2 separate regions of the Homo sapiens genome follow, and region 1 is linked to region 2. The links are contacts of gene promoters, found by promoter capture Hi-C in blood cells and fetal thymus (Javierre and others, 2016). All regions are on one chromosome and are shown on one strand. The core of a region is centred on a gene start or on the middle of the fragment in contact, and the rest is flanking DNA. Distances in the headings are between cores, read along the strand shown. Region 1 holds the start of TMED9 (transmembrane p24 trafficking protein 9). Region 2 holds the start of RNF44 (ring finger protein 44).

Evidence for each region. Contacts are between HindIII fragments. The CHiCAGO score rates a contact against its expected background, and 5 or more counts as called.
Region 1: a contact is called between the fragment with the promoter of TMED9 here and the fragment with the promoter of RNF44 in region 2, in 1 of 17 cell types (monocytes). The highest score is 6.6, in monocytes.

What each region holds. Positions count from the first base shown.
Region 1 is chr5:177,586,034-177,593,452 of GRCh38, forward strand. TMED9 (transmembrane p24 trafficking protein 9) reads left to right here and starts at 6,170. Exons shown (of 5, transcript NM_017510.6): 1 at 6,170-6,365; 2 at 6,542-6,642. The coding sequence starts at 6,182. RefSeq lists an enhancer at 7,375-7,419. The HindIII fragment of the contact is 2,414 bases long and covers 5,183-7,419 here.
Region 2 is chr5:176,535,066-176,541,705 of GRCh38, forward strand. RNF44 (ring finger protein 44) reads right to left here and starts at 2,337. Exons shown (of 11, transcript NM_014901.5): 1 at 1,875-2,337. LOC124901143 (a long non-coding RNA gene) reads left to right here and starts at 2,864. Exons shown (of 2, transcript XR_007059071.1): 1 at 2,864-3,058; 2 at 3,993-4,232. RefSeq lists silencers at 1,831-2,020, 2,101-2,360 and enhancers at 2,471-2,910, 3,151-3,330. The HindIII fragment of the contact is 3,937 bases long and covers 1,391-5,327 here.

The DNA of each region.
Region 1 (7,419 bases), core at 4,920-7,419, 1.1 Mb after region 2:
CCTTTTTATGGCTGAGTAGTATTCCATAATATATATATGTGTGTATATATATATATATATATATACCAGTTTATTTATTGATGGGCATTTGGGTTGGTTCCACATTTTTGCAATTGTGAATTGTGCTGCTATAAACATGTGTGTGCAAGTATCTTTTTCGTAGAATGACCTCTTTTCCTCTAGGTAGATACCCAGTAGTGGGATTTCTGGATCAAATGGTAGTTCTACTTTTAGTTCTTTAAGGAATCTCCACACTGTCTTCCATACTGGCTGTACTAGTTTACATCCCCACCAGCAGTGTAGAAATGTTCCCTGTTCACTCCATCCACACCAACACCTATTATTTTTTGATTTTTTGATGGTGGCCATCCTTGCAGGAGTAAGGTGGTATTGCATTGTGGTTTTGATTTGCATTTCCCTGATCATTAGTGATGTTGAGCATTTTAAAGAAAGCATGCATGAAAGGGGAAACATTTACATGACCCTAGTGATGACCATTAGGTTTTATCGTGGTCAGCAGCTATGGGGTGTGTTGGGTTTTGAATTAGTGGGATGAGGAATGAGTGAATTATATCAGAGGCAACTACATGGGGACGGGAAGTTTTAACTAGGCCAAAGGTGAAAGGGTATGGCTGGGCTTCAGACAACTTATGCCAGACCCAAAAATAGATGCAGAGACAGCAACTATACACATTTATGGCATCTGGTGTTGGTATTTTCACAAATTGTGTTCAATTTATGAAAATTCACTGAGAGGTAAACATTTAGCTTATGCACTTTTCTGTCTTTTTTTTATGCTTCAGTAAAACATTTACAAAGCAGCTTCCTCTCCCACAATAGCTCCCCAAACCCCTGTTCCTCTTTTATATAAGCAGGCATAGTTACCAATTTCTTACTGATAACCAGATGGCCATTCTTTTTTCATGGCGATATAATATTTAATTATAGAAGTGTGCCATAATTTATTTTATTTTTTTGAGACAGAGTGTCACTCTGTCGCCAAGGCTGGAGTGCAGTGGCATGATCTCAGCTCACTGCAACCTCCGCCTCCCGGGTTCAAGTGATTCTCCTGCCTCAGGCTCCCGAGTAGCTGGGATTACAGGTGTGTGCTATCATGCCTGGCTAATTTTTGTATTTTTAGTAGAAACGGGGCTTTACCATGTTGGCCAGGCTGGTCTCGAACTCCTGACTTCAGGTGATCCATCTACCTTGGCCTCCCAAAGTGTGGGGATTACAGGCGTGAGCCACTGCACCTGGTCCATAATTTCTTTCTTTTAATTTTTATTTATTTATTTATTGAGACAGGTCTCACTGTCACCCAGGCTAGAGTACAGTGGCACAATCACAGCTCACTGCAGCCTTGACCTCCTGGGCTCAAGCAATCCTCCCACTTCAGCCTCCTAAGTAGCTGGGACTACAGGAATGTGCCACCACGCCTGGCTAAGTAGTTGGGACTACAGGTGCGAGCCACAACACCCGGCTAATTTTTGTATTTTTTTGTAGAGACAGGATTTCACCATGTTGCCCAGTCTGGTCGTGAACTCCTGAGCTCAAGCAGCTCTCCTGCTTCAGCCTTCCAAAGTGCTGGGATTACAGGTGTGAGCCACCACACCCGGCCTATTTTTAAAATATCTTATTAGTGGAATAGATATAAATCAAAGTTATTAAAGTAGCTGCATCTGGAAAGGGATGGAGGGAATAAGGATTTAATTTTATTTGTAATAATTTTGTTCTTTAAAACATACCTGATAGTTTAGGACTTCTGCTTCTGAGAAGATGATATAGACATACTTTTCTCCATTCCTCTGGCTAGGTACAACCAAAATCCTAACTAAAAGAGGAGTCTCAAATCAATAATCTAAACTACTTCTGGCCGGGTGCAGTGGCTCATGCCTATAATCTCAGCACTTTGGGAGGCTGAAGAGGGCAGATCACCTGAGGTCAGGGGTTCGAGACCAGCCTGGGCAACATGGTGAAACCCCATCTCTACTAAAAATACAAAAATTAGCAGAGCATGGTGACACATGCCTGTAATCCCAGCTACTTGGGAGGGTGAGGCAGGAGAATCGCTTGAACCTGGGAGGTGGAGGCTGCGATGAGCCGAGATGTTGCTACTGTACTCCATCCTGGGTGACAGAGTGAGACCTTGTCTCAAAAATCAAAACAAAACAAAACAACAAAAAAACCCCACAAACTTCTACTTCAAGTCACTAGAATAAGAAGAACAAACTAAATCCAAAGCAAGCAGAAGAGGAAAAAATAACAAGCAGAAACCAATGAAATTAAAAACAGAAAAGCAACAGAGAAAATCAATGACACAAAAAGCTGATTCTTTGAAAAGACTGATAAAATTGACAAACCTCTTACAAGACTGATACAGAAAAAAGAAGACATAAATCACCAGTATCAGTAATGAAACGGGTGACATCAGTACAGACCCTGCCCACATCAGAAGGATCATAAGAGAATAATTCCACGGACAACTTTACATACATATGTGGGGGTGTGTGCTGCAGACCTCAACTCAACGACAGATGAATAATGTACACTGACACAGATATTCTGCTTGTCAGTCAGGCCGATTGTCCAGGCCCCCTACAGACTCCCAGGAGAGTGCTGTACATTTGCAACGTGGCCCCGACTCCCCGCCTCCTACTCGCTGGCCTTCTCGTCATTTACTTAGCACACATTAAACACAGCAAAAGTCTCAAGTAAACACCATTAGAGGGTAATCAACCTGGTCGCCTTCCCCTGCCTCCCCCAGAGCGCCATCCTGCCCGCGAATGATTAAAGGTTACTTTTAGAACCACATGAGTAAACAAGCTATTTAGATAGACTCCTCTACATTCCTATGTTACTTACCCTTGCTATGGCTCAAAGAGGATTAGGCCGCTTTCAGCCAAACTATCTGAAGCTAAGCAAAAACCTTTTGGCCTTCCAAGTTTTGTGTTTTATTGTATAATTTTCCCCACCATCCTGACTGAACCTCTACATACATAAATGTAACAATTTAGGCAAAATAGATCAATTACTCAAAAAGCACACACTATCACAACTTACTAGTATGAAATAGATACTTTGAATAGCCCTATAGCTATTAAGGAAATTTAATTCATAATTAAAACACTCCCCAAAAGGAAATTTCAAGGCCCAGATGATTACACTGGAGCATTCTACCACACTTTTGTTTTTTTTTTTGAGATGGAGTTTCACTCTTGTTGCCCAGGCTAGAATGCAAAGGTGCCTTCTCAGCTCACCAAACCTCTGCTTCCCAGGTTCAAGTAATTCTCCTGCCTCAGCCTCCCGAGGAGCTGGGATTACAGGCATGTGCCACCACACAGGCTAATTTTGTATTTTTAGTAGAAACAGGGTTTCTCCATGTTGGTGAGGCAGGTCTCGATCTCCTGACCTTGTGATCCTCCCGCCTCGGTCTCCCAAAGTGCTGGGATTACAAGCGTGAGCCACCGTGCCCGGCCAAAGTTGACTGTTTTTAACTGTACACTTCAGTGGGATTAAGTACATTATATTGCCATAGAACTCTCACCACCATCCATCTACAGAACTCTTTTTATCTTGGAAAACTGAAACTCTATACCTATTAAACAATAACTTCACTCTCCCTGTCCTCCAGTCCCTGGCAACCACCATTCTGCTTTCTGTCTCTGTGATTTTGACGACTCTAGTACCTCATATACATGGAATTACCCAGTATTTATCATTTTATGTCTGGCTTAGTCCACTTAGCGTAATGTTTCTTCAAGATTCATCTATGTTGTAGCATGTGTCAGAATTCCCATCCTTTCTAAGGCTGAAAGGATTTCCATTGTGTGGATGTACCATATTTTGCTTATCTATTCATCTACTGATGAAGAACTGGGTTGCTTCCATTTTTTTTTTTGCTTGTGAATAATGCTGCTGTGAACATATGTGTACAAATATCTCTTTGAGACCCTACTTTTAATTATTTTGAGGATATCTCTAGATATGGACTTGCTGAATCATATGGTAATTCTATTTTTATTTATTTATTTTGAGACAGTGTCTTGCTTTGTCACCCAGGCTGGAGTGCAGTGGCATGATCACAGCTCACTGTAGCCTTGACCTCCCAGGCTCAAGCAATCCTCTTGCCTCAGCCTCCTGAGTAGCTGGGACTACAGGCGCATGCCACCAGATCCAGTTAATTTTTGTATTTTTTGTAGAGATGGGGTTTCGTCATGTTGCCCCGACTGGTCTCGAACTCCTGGGCTCAAGCAATCCTCCTGCTTCTGCCTCCCAAAGCGCTGGAATTATAGGCGTAAGCCACCATGCCCAGCCTATTTTCACTTTTTTGAGGAATCATTATACGGTTTTCCACAGTGTCTGTACCATTTTACATTCCCACCAACAGTGCACAAGGGTTCAATTTCCCCACATCCTTGCCAATGCTTGTAGTTTCTTTCTTTTCCTTTTTTTTTTTCTAGTGGCCATCTTAATGGGTATATGACGTAGTATCTCATTGTTCTTTATCTCATTGTGATTTGTGTTTCTCTAATGATTAGTGATGTTGAGTATCTTTTCATGTGCTCACTGGCCACTTGTTGATCACTGGAGAAATGTCTATTCAAGCCCTTTGTTGTGGTTTTTGAATGAGATTGTTCTTATTTTGTTGCTGAGTTTTAGGAGTCTCTGCATATTCTGGATATTAATCCTTTGTCAGATATATGATTTGCAAATATTTTCTTCCATTCTGTGGGTTGCCTCTTTACTCTGCTACAGAGTCTTTTGATGCACAAAATGTTTTAATTTTCATAAAGTCCAATTTGTCTATTTTTTCTTTTGTTGCCTGTGCCTTTAGTGTCATATCCAGGAAGTCTGTTGCCAAATCCGATGTGGTAAACCCTTTGCCATATGTTTTCTATGAGTTTTATGCTTTGGGATTTTAAAAGTTGTGGGTCTTTTTGGGTGAATTTTTATCTATGGTGTTAGAGAAGGAACCACCTTCACTTTTTTGCATGTGGATATCCAGTTTTCCCAGCACCATTTGTTAGAAAGACTGTCCCTCCTCCCCGCATTGAATGGGCTTGGTCTCCTTGTTAAAAATTATTTGACCATATATGGGAGGGCATATCTTGGGGCTCTCTATTGTATTCCATTGGTCTATATGTCTGTCTATATGCCAGTACCACACTGTCTTGATGACTGAAGCTTGGAAGTAAGTTTTGAAATCAGGAAGTGTGAGTTCTTCAGCTTTATTCTTATTTTTCAGGATTGTTTTGGCTAATCGAAATCCCTTGAGAGTATATGAATTGTAGAATGAGTTTCTCTGTTTCTACAAAAAATGTCATTGGGATTTTGACAGGAATTGCATTAAATCTGTAGATTGCTTTGGATAGTATTGACATCTTAACTATATTAAGTAAGGATGATTTTTTTTAAATTACTGATTCAATCTCCTCACTAGTTATAGGTTTATTCAGATTATATTATCTATTCTGAGTCAGTTTTGCATTTCTATGAATTTGTCCATTTCATCTACGTTATCCAATTTGTTGGCTTATATTTGCTCATAGTACTCTCTTATGATCCTTTCTATTTCTGTAGAATTGCTAGTAACGAGCCATTGCAGTTGGGATCTGGCAGCAGAGGCTGTGTGTGTGTTTGTGTGTGTGTGTGATCGGAGAAATGCTTGAGAGGGTAACACCCGATTTAGGAGTGGACAGGGTATGAGGACAAAGAAGTGGTAATGGGAGACCTTGCCTTTTATTTCTTTTAATCTTTTTTGATAATACATTTGTGCATTATTTGGTCGTTCTCTTTAAATTCATTTTTAAAGGTAGAAGCAAATCAAGACTGGTAGATGCTGTGCCAAGGAAAGTCAGGGATCCTAGGTTCGAATCCTGTCTCTGTTCGCAATTCGCTCCGCAACCTCAAACAAACGACCTCAGTTTCATCTATGAAAAGCTGGTAACCATCGTCAGTTGCCAGGCCATGAAGAGAGTCAACGGAAATAAGTTTTTATTCTAGGGCACCCGCTCTCTCTCAGGTAAAAGCCGCGCCCCAATCAGGTACTGCCGCGCCAGGGCCGCGGGACATCTCGGGATTTGTGGTCCACCCGGCGGAACTCGCGGTCCCGGCAGGCACCGCGGCGGCGGCAGGGCGACGTGGCGCGGCCGGCTGCGGCTGCGCAGGCAGGTGGAGCAAGATGGCTGTGGAGCTGGGCGTGCTGCTCGTCCGGCCCCGGCCCGGAACCGGGCTGGGTAGAGTGATGCGGACCCTCCTGCTGGTGCTGTGGCTGGCGACGCGCGGAAGCGCGCTCTACTTTCACATCGGAGAGACGGAGAAGAAGTGCTTTATTGAGGAGATCCCGGACGAGACCATGGTCATAGGTGCGGGGGCGGGGAGGAAGGGGCGAGTTTGGAACGTGACCGTGGTCTTGGGGCGGGGGATGCGAGACAGTCAGCTCTCTAGAGCCGGGAGGAGACGGCCTCGCCGTGCCCAGGCGGTCGCGGAACCCATGCCACCTCGCGCTCCTCTGACCTGGGCTCGCCCTGCTTCCCTCAAGGAAACTACCGGACGCAGCTGTATGACAAGCAGCGGGAGGAGTACCAGCCGGCCACCCCGGGGCTTGGCATGTTTGTGGAGGTGAAGGACCCAGAGGACAAGGTGAGCCAACCGCCCCCCTCCTCTCCGCCAGCCTCTCAGCTAGGCGGGCTCCGGTACTTCCTCTTCTAGTTCCTGCATCTGCTAAAGTGGGAGAGACAGTTGATGTTGTGGGAATATCCTGCTGACTTGCAGACCCCGCCCGGTCTGTGAAATGGGCGGATTAATTGTGGTGATAAAAATCAAAGAGTTTTGTCAACTCTTAAAGTCATCTAGACTTTAAGATTTCACAGAACATGATACTTTCCCCACAAAATGAGCAGCTTTTAATCTTCCCAAGTAAGGATATTAAAACGAACGGCAAAACCCTTCAGCTCTCACCTTCTGTCACTTTTCGTTAAAAAACTCATGGCGGGGTGTGGTGGCTCTTGCCTGTAATCCCAGCACTTTGGGATGCCGAGGCGGGTGGATCACTTGAGGCCGGGAGTTCAGGACCGGCCTGGGCAACCTCCGTCTGGCAAACCCCGTCTCTAGTAAAAATACAAAAAAAAAAAAAAAAAAAAATGAGCCGGGTGTGGTGGCGCACACCTCTAATACCAGATACTTGGGAGGCTAAGGCACGATAATTGCTTGAACCTGGGAAGCTGAGGCTGCAGTGAGCTGAGATAGCATCACTGCACTCCAGCCAGGACGACAGAGTGAGACTCTGTCTCAAAAACAAAAACAAAAAAGAACCCCCCAAAAAACAACTCACACCAAAAAAGTTGAAAGGGCATAAGCTATAAAGGAAAGCCCTTCCCAAGAGCAGTCAGTCACTTGCCACCCTAATGTCAGACTCTC
Region 2 (6,640 bases), core at 1,087-3,586:
AGCCAGGAGACAGAAGGGCCTCCAGCCGTGGGTAAGAATGTCAGCCCTCACAGACTCACACATGACAGTGACTTCTAGCGAGATTCTTGCCTACAGACCGTGGGCAAGGGCTTCCCCTCCCGAGCCTCAGTATCTTCATCTGTAAAATGGGAACAGCCCAATAACTACCTCCCAGTTTCCCATCAAGGACTGCTCCAAGGCAACAGCAGAAGCAACTTGTAAAGTTTGAACTTAGCTTGGGTGTGAATGATCATTATTAGCGAATACGACACGCTGACCTCCATTTCCAACCTCAAGCAGAGCTTGAAGGGTGCCACTTCCGGGGCAGCAGGCAGATATGCCACTCTAGGGGAATACCTCAGCTGGTAAGAGTGGATCCTGGTTCTTTAAGCCCTGCCAGGAACAGGGGTGGCGTAGAAGGGTTACACCCACTTCATGGCTGAGAAAACTGGAGCCGAGAGAAAGGAAGTAAGTTACTCTAGGCCACAAGACCAGAGAGAACGGAATTGGTCCTAGTTGGCCTCCTAGGCCCAAACTCCCCCAAGCCATAACTCCTGTGGCATCAGTAGCTGGAGGAAATCACCTAATCCCGAGTCTCCAAGCCATACAGGAGGCTGGGAGAGCACTCTCTTTCAGGCACCCATCTTTAGCTCTGTAGTACAGAGAAGCAAGCAAGGCCCAGAGTTGGAGCTAGCAACTTGCTCAAGGTCAAATAGCAAGGGTGGCCAGGTGGCCTCCCCTAACAACTGCTCTGCCCGTCCACATCTCCATGCTGTCCTATCACGGAGCTCTGTGTGAACGGGTCTTGAGAGTCCCGTCGCTGAGCCCCGTCCGCCCCAGGCACGCAATGCATTTTGCAGTTAACATAACCCCCCACACCCACCCATGAGAGCCGGCCAACCCCTTAAGTCCAGTGCCCCAAGCACCTACCCTGACCTTGGTCTAAGAGCCCCAGGGATCTGTTTGCAGGAAGAGACACTCCCTTTTGCAGATAAAAACAAAGTCAGACCCTGGGGGCATGAGCAGACTCAGCCAGGAAGAGAAGCCCCCCTTCCTACTTCCCCACACCCCACCCGAAACAAGCAGGCTCTGCCCAGCGCAAGCAGAGCTTCCCAACGTGTGGTGCCTGGAGGCCGCTGAGGGCCGGACCACCAGACTAGGAGAGAAGACTCCCTAGTGACCTTGGTCAAGGAAATCCCTTTGCTTCTGAGCGCCTCAGTTGGCACAGCTATAAAATGGGGGTGGAAATCTTTCCTTCCCACAGCGCCCAAATAAAACCAGAAGAGTCCAGAAGAAACCAGGTGGTCACACTAGTGGGGGAGGAAACCAGGGTCCTGGGGAAGGGGGGGCTCCCCAACGCGGGCCAAGTGCACGCTGTGGGGCTCTGGGAAGCTTACCCAGCCACCCCTCCCCAGGCATAGTGCTGGGGGGCCGAGGCGCGGACACAGCCCCGAGAGGGGCCTCCCTCGTCCGCTTCCTACTCTTTTGCGCCGCTCTCGGAGGGACACCGGGGGCGGGAGGCGAGACTGCAGCGCAGGGGCCAGAACGCTGCGACTTTAAGAGCCGAGGATCCCGGACCATGTGCTCGGCGTGAGACAAAAGCAACAACAAAGGAAGTGGCGGCCGCAGGGGGAGGGGGGCGGCTCCTTCCTCTCCAACCGCAGCGCTCAGCTGCAGGAGAGGGGAGATACGGCCCGGCCACGGGGGGCCTTGGGGGGGGTTCCTGATCCCTGGGGTCTCGCTGCCCGCAGTCTGGACCGCCCGTGATTAACCCCTACGGAGCCACCTAGATCACGGCCCCCATTCCCAGGGGAGGGGAACAGAAGGTCCATGGGTGGGGGAATAGGAAGTTGGGGGCCCTGGCACCGACTCACCTTTGGCCGCCCGGCCACACGTTGACTCCTTTGTTCCCGATCTAGGACGGCCAAACTGGGCAGGGGGCGGGGGAGGGGGGGGGTGCCTGTCTGGATCCTTTAAGAGCTCCCGCCCTGCGGAACAATGTGCTCCCCTCCCCACCCCCGGGTCCGGGGGCAGCCCGGCTCCTTCCGGGGCCTCTCTCTTTGTTGTCCGCCCGACGGCGTCTGCCTCGCGAGGCCCACGCGCGATCAGTCTCTCTCGGCCCAGGCCCTCAGGGAGCGGGAGGCGGCGCAGGACGCAGCTGGGTCTGCGCGGCAGCCGGCGGCTGGCCCTTTAAGAACTGTCCGCGGCGGCAGCGGAATGTAACAAACCCCACATTTGATTCACAACATTCGAAGCGGCGGGGTCGCGCGCCAGACGGGAGGGGGCTCGCGGGGGCGCGCCGGGAGGCTCCGGCAAACAGTAGCCCGCTGCAAGCCCGCAGGGGCCCCGCCCCGCGCCGGGAGCTCCGCCCTGAGAGCCAATCACTCGCCGCGACCACGCACGTGACTAGTGGGCCACCATCTTGAATTTTTTTAACCTCCTCCTCGCCCCCACCTTCGCACTTAAAGGGACCGCAGCCATAGTCAAAAGCAAGGGGCGGGGCCGCATATCCTGACATAAAGATGGGGAGACCCCAGGGTGGGCAAAACCGATCGGCTGCAACTCGAACTTGCTATGCAAACTCGCTAACTACTCGCGCCTCTGAGGCTCAGTTTCCCTGCCGAAGAAATGGGTCCCGCCAGGAGAACCGGCAGTACGGACTTACTGTGTCATGGTCCCCTCCTCGGGGACAGGGTGCCGCCTGAGATACTGAAGTGCAATGGGTCTGACCTCTGACGGGGCGAGAGCGGCCCAAGTGGTTATGCTGGCTCTAACAACCCTGGGCCGGCCACCTTCCCGGAGATGACGTCACCCCCAAGAGCTGCAGCACCGCGCTGACATCATGGCCCGGCCGCCCCACTTCTCCTTGTTTATACTACACGGCGTCTTTAAAAAGCTGGTACGGCCCAGATTGCCCAACAGACCAATGGCGGACCACCCATGCAAACGAGCTAACGTCTGCCGGGCAAGGAGATTGGCCCTGCTCGCGCTGACGTCACAGAGACATTTAACCGCCACGCCCCCAGCGTGGCGGTGGAGGAAGAGAGGCGGGGAACAGGTTGTAGTTTAAAGCAAAAGTGCAGGCGCTGGGCGCTCTAGCTGCTAGGCTGGGCTTGAGAGTTTGGTGTCCCCGCGGAGACCTCCCTAGCCAGGGAAACTGGGAACTAAGCCCAGTGAAGCGTCTATACTTTAGTTTTCTATTCCTCTCAGCAGCTATGAGACGGAGGGATTACTATAGCCAGTTCATTTTACAGATGGGGAAAGTGAGGGCCTTCCCTTACTCCAGATCACACAACTAGAAGTGTGGCGGAGCAGGAGTGTGAACCTAATCCAAAGCCGAGCCTCGTTCTCCTTTGCCTCGAAGCCCACCCACCCGGGCAAAATTTATACAAAATGGGGTATTACCTCCACCACAATTATATAAGCAGAAAATCAGTAATTTGCTAAATATCCAAGAGCTGGAACAGGTCGAATAATGAATATTGGGTGCATGCATATAATCAATAACGACTCTTGGGCAGTTACCACAAAGAGGCAGCTGGAGGCGACACGGGGCTATCTCCAAGACAGCCATAAACAAGGCGCCAATGCAAAATGTTAACATCTGTTAACCTGTGTGGTGGGCCATGGGGCAGGGGGATGGGGGGCTCATTTTCTATGCTGCTTTGGTATATTTCGTAATCCTAAATTTTATATAAAAATTGAAACCAAGATGCTGAACAGTTCTAACAGTATGTATCAGGTTTCTTTAATTGGACATATGCCACATCTGCATATATTTCTGGAAGGGTATACAGGAAACTGATTAACAATTGTCCTTAGGGAGAACTGGAAGGGAGAAGTTGGGTCAGTAGGATAGACTATTGTATATATTGCACATTAGCTCTTTTTTAAAAACCCTATGCATTATAACCCACTGAAATTTTTAAAGAAAGCTATTATAAAGACTATGTCTTAAGTCTTTTAAGCCAGAAAACCTTTTGTTCCCTTAGAATCAGAAACCCCCTTTCAGCTTGGGGAACAGACATGTTTATGGCAATGTTTAGACCAGCAATGATCGTATCACTGTGCAACACAATGACTGAAGATGGAACTGAGCCGGCTGTCGGCAGATCTCTAAGCAACACAAGAGCAAGGTCATGATGCAGTGCTATCGATGCTCCCTGGAACGCCAAACTCTATCCATCACAGTTAAAAATTACATGTGCATGAGAATAAGTGTGGCTATACAAGGTTATGTCTTTACCCAGTTCCTTATCATCAACTGTTCCTTTACCTCCAATGTCTCCTTCAACCTTTTGTTTTCCCCACCACATAAAAGCAATTTGAAAACCCTCCCCATGGCCGGGCACGGTGGCTCACGCCTGTAATCCCAGCACTTTGGGAGATCCAGGCGGGCAGATCACAAGGTCAGGAGTTTGAGACCAGCCTGACCAACATGGTGAAACCCTGTCTCCACAAAAAATACAAAAATTAGCTGGGCATGGTGGCATGCACTTGTAGTCCCAGCCACTTAGGAGGCTGAGGCAGGAGAATCGCTTGAACATGGGAAGTGGAGGTTGCAGTGAGCTGAGATTGCGCCACTGCACTCCAGCCTGGGTGACAGAGCGAGACTCCGTCTTAAAAAAAAAAAAACCCTCCCCACATTTGAAGGTACCTACATATTTGTTAGATTACTGCCTGCCTGTCCTTATGGATAGGGCCTACAGTGGCTCCCTACTGCCAACTGCATGGAAGCCTGGTTTTGGGGCTGCACTTAACAAGCTCTTCCTGCCCGAACTTTTCAGGCTCGCCTCTCCCCAGTCCCTCCTCTCACACCATGGTGGTGCTTCGTCTGGCTTTCTCTCCCTGCCACCTTCCTGCCTTTGCTCAGGCTAGACTGCCTGCCTGGGATGCCCTCTCTTTTCCTTTCTGCCAATCCATTTCACTTTTCGGCGGTTTGAAGCTCTGTTCCTAACTCACCTTTTACAGGAAGCTGCTTGTGACATCTCCAGCTGTGCTGAATCCCCCATTTTTGAACGCAGAGCTAGATGCACCCCAGCCTTTACCTCATGCCATTTAATTTGCACACAGTCCTGTCACAATCGCTGTGTGTCTCACTCAGTAATTCCCCTCCTGGCTGAAGGGGTTTGGCTTTTTTAAGTGCGCAGACGTCCAGCCTTCACTGGCATATACGGGTACCCCAGCCTCATTTTACAGATGAGGACCTGAGGCTCAAAGAGGTGAAGTGACTTGTCTGAGGCCACACAGTAAGACCACCTTTTCCATCCCCACCCCAGGAAAGCGACCCTCCAGCCACAATCTAATCCTGTACTTTTAAGCCACCAAGCTTCTGACTGTGGCATTCTCCCTGCTTAATATGTCCTCAATATCCCCTACTTACTGGGCAAAATCCTGCTTATGCTTTGGGACTAGCTCAAAGACCACTCCCTTGGATGGTGCCTTCCCTGCCCTGCCGGCTTGCGCTGGCTTCCTCAGTGTTAGGATTACCATCACATTGCATCATGAGAGCAGAAGACCATCTCCATGTGACTGCTGCCCCTGCTCCCAGCAGGGCCCACAACACCCAGTCCAGGACCTGGCTCACGCTGGGTGGCGGATGCCCAGGAATGGGGCTCTGGATCTGCCTCTTCTCCTGCAGGACCAGGAAACCGCTGCCCTGTCCCTGCCCCAGGAAACCCTCAGTAAATCCCCAGTCATTTGAGTTTCCCCTCAGCGCCAGAGACCAATAACACATCTCCACCAACCTGAAAAACCTTCACGCGTGGATGTGAAATCACTCTGGAGCAAGTGGGAAGGGAGGCACAATTTTCCCAGAATTTTCCAGTTTTTCAAATGAAGCCAGAAATCTGAAATCTGAACTTTTCTTCGAATCCCTCCTCAGGGTCACTGATGGATCTTAGGCTTTGGAACCCTGCTGTGGGGACGTGGCCTGCACACCTACTGTGCGAGCCTTGTTCTCCCCGTACCCCAAGCCCTCAAAGGGAGACGTCGTTTACTTTCATCGCACAGAGGAAAGCGGTTCAGAGCCATGGAGGGGCAGACCCTCGCCACAGAGCCCAGAAGTGTGAAACCTCAGATGGGAGTGGCCCACCTCTGCTCTGGCATCTGCTGTGAGGTTCTATGGGGGAAATGGGGGTCCTAGAGTCTTCTACAAGCTCTGGGCAAGTCCTATCCTGATCCTCTCCTCATCATGTTCTAAGAGCTGGCCACCAGCATTGGCCCCATTTTACAGATGAGGTGAGAGGTGACAGGACTCACCCAGTGTCATGCAGCCATCAAGGGGCAAACCTGGGATCCCATTCTCATCTCACATTAAGTGTGGTTTGTGAACCATGAATGCCAACACAGGGGCCCCGTGGTTGCTGAACAACCAAATGCAGATGTCCCCAGGGAAAGGGGAGAACACAGAGGCTCAGGGACTAGTGGATGGCTCCAGATCAGAGTGGACAGGAGCCTGAGAGGGATCCAAAGTTTGATCCTTCCAGCACAAAGCACTTGATGCCACATTCCGGCTTCCTCCCCCAGGCCTCCTCTGCAGTGGGGAAGGGCTTGGGCAAGCAGAGGCAGGAAGAGGAGGGCGTGGCCATGTTTCCTGCTGGGGCCCTGCCCGACTAGGGTTCTCACCTACCCCAGAGCC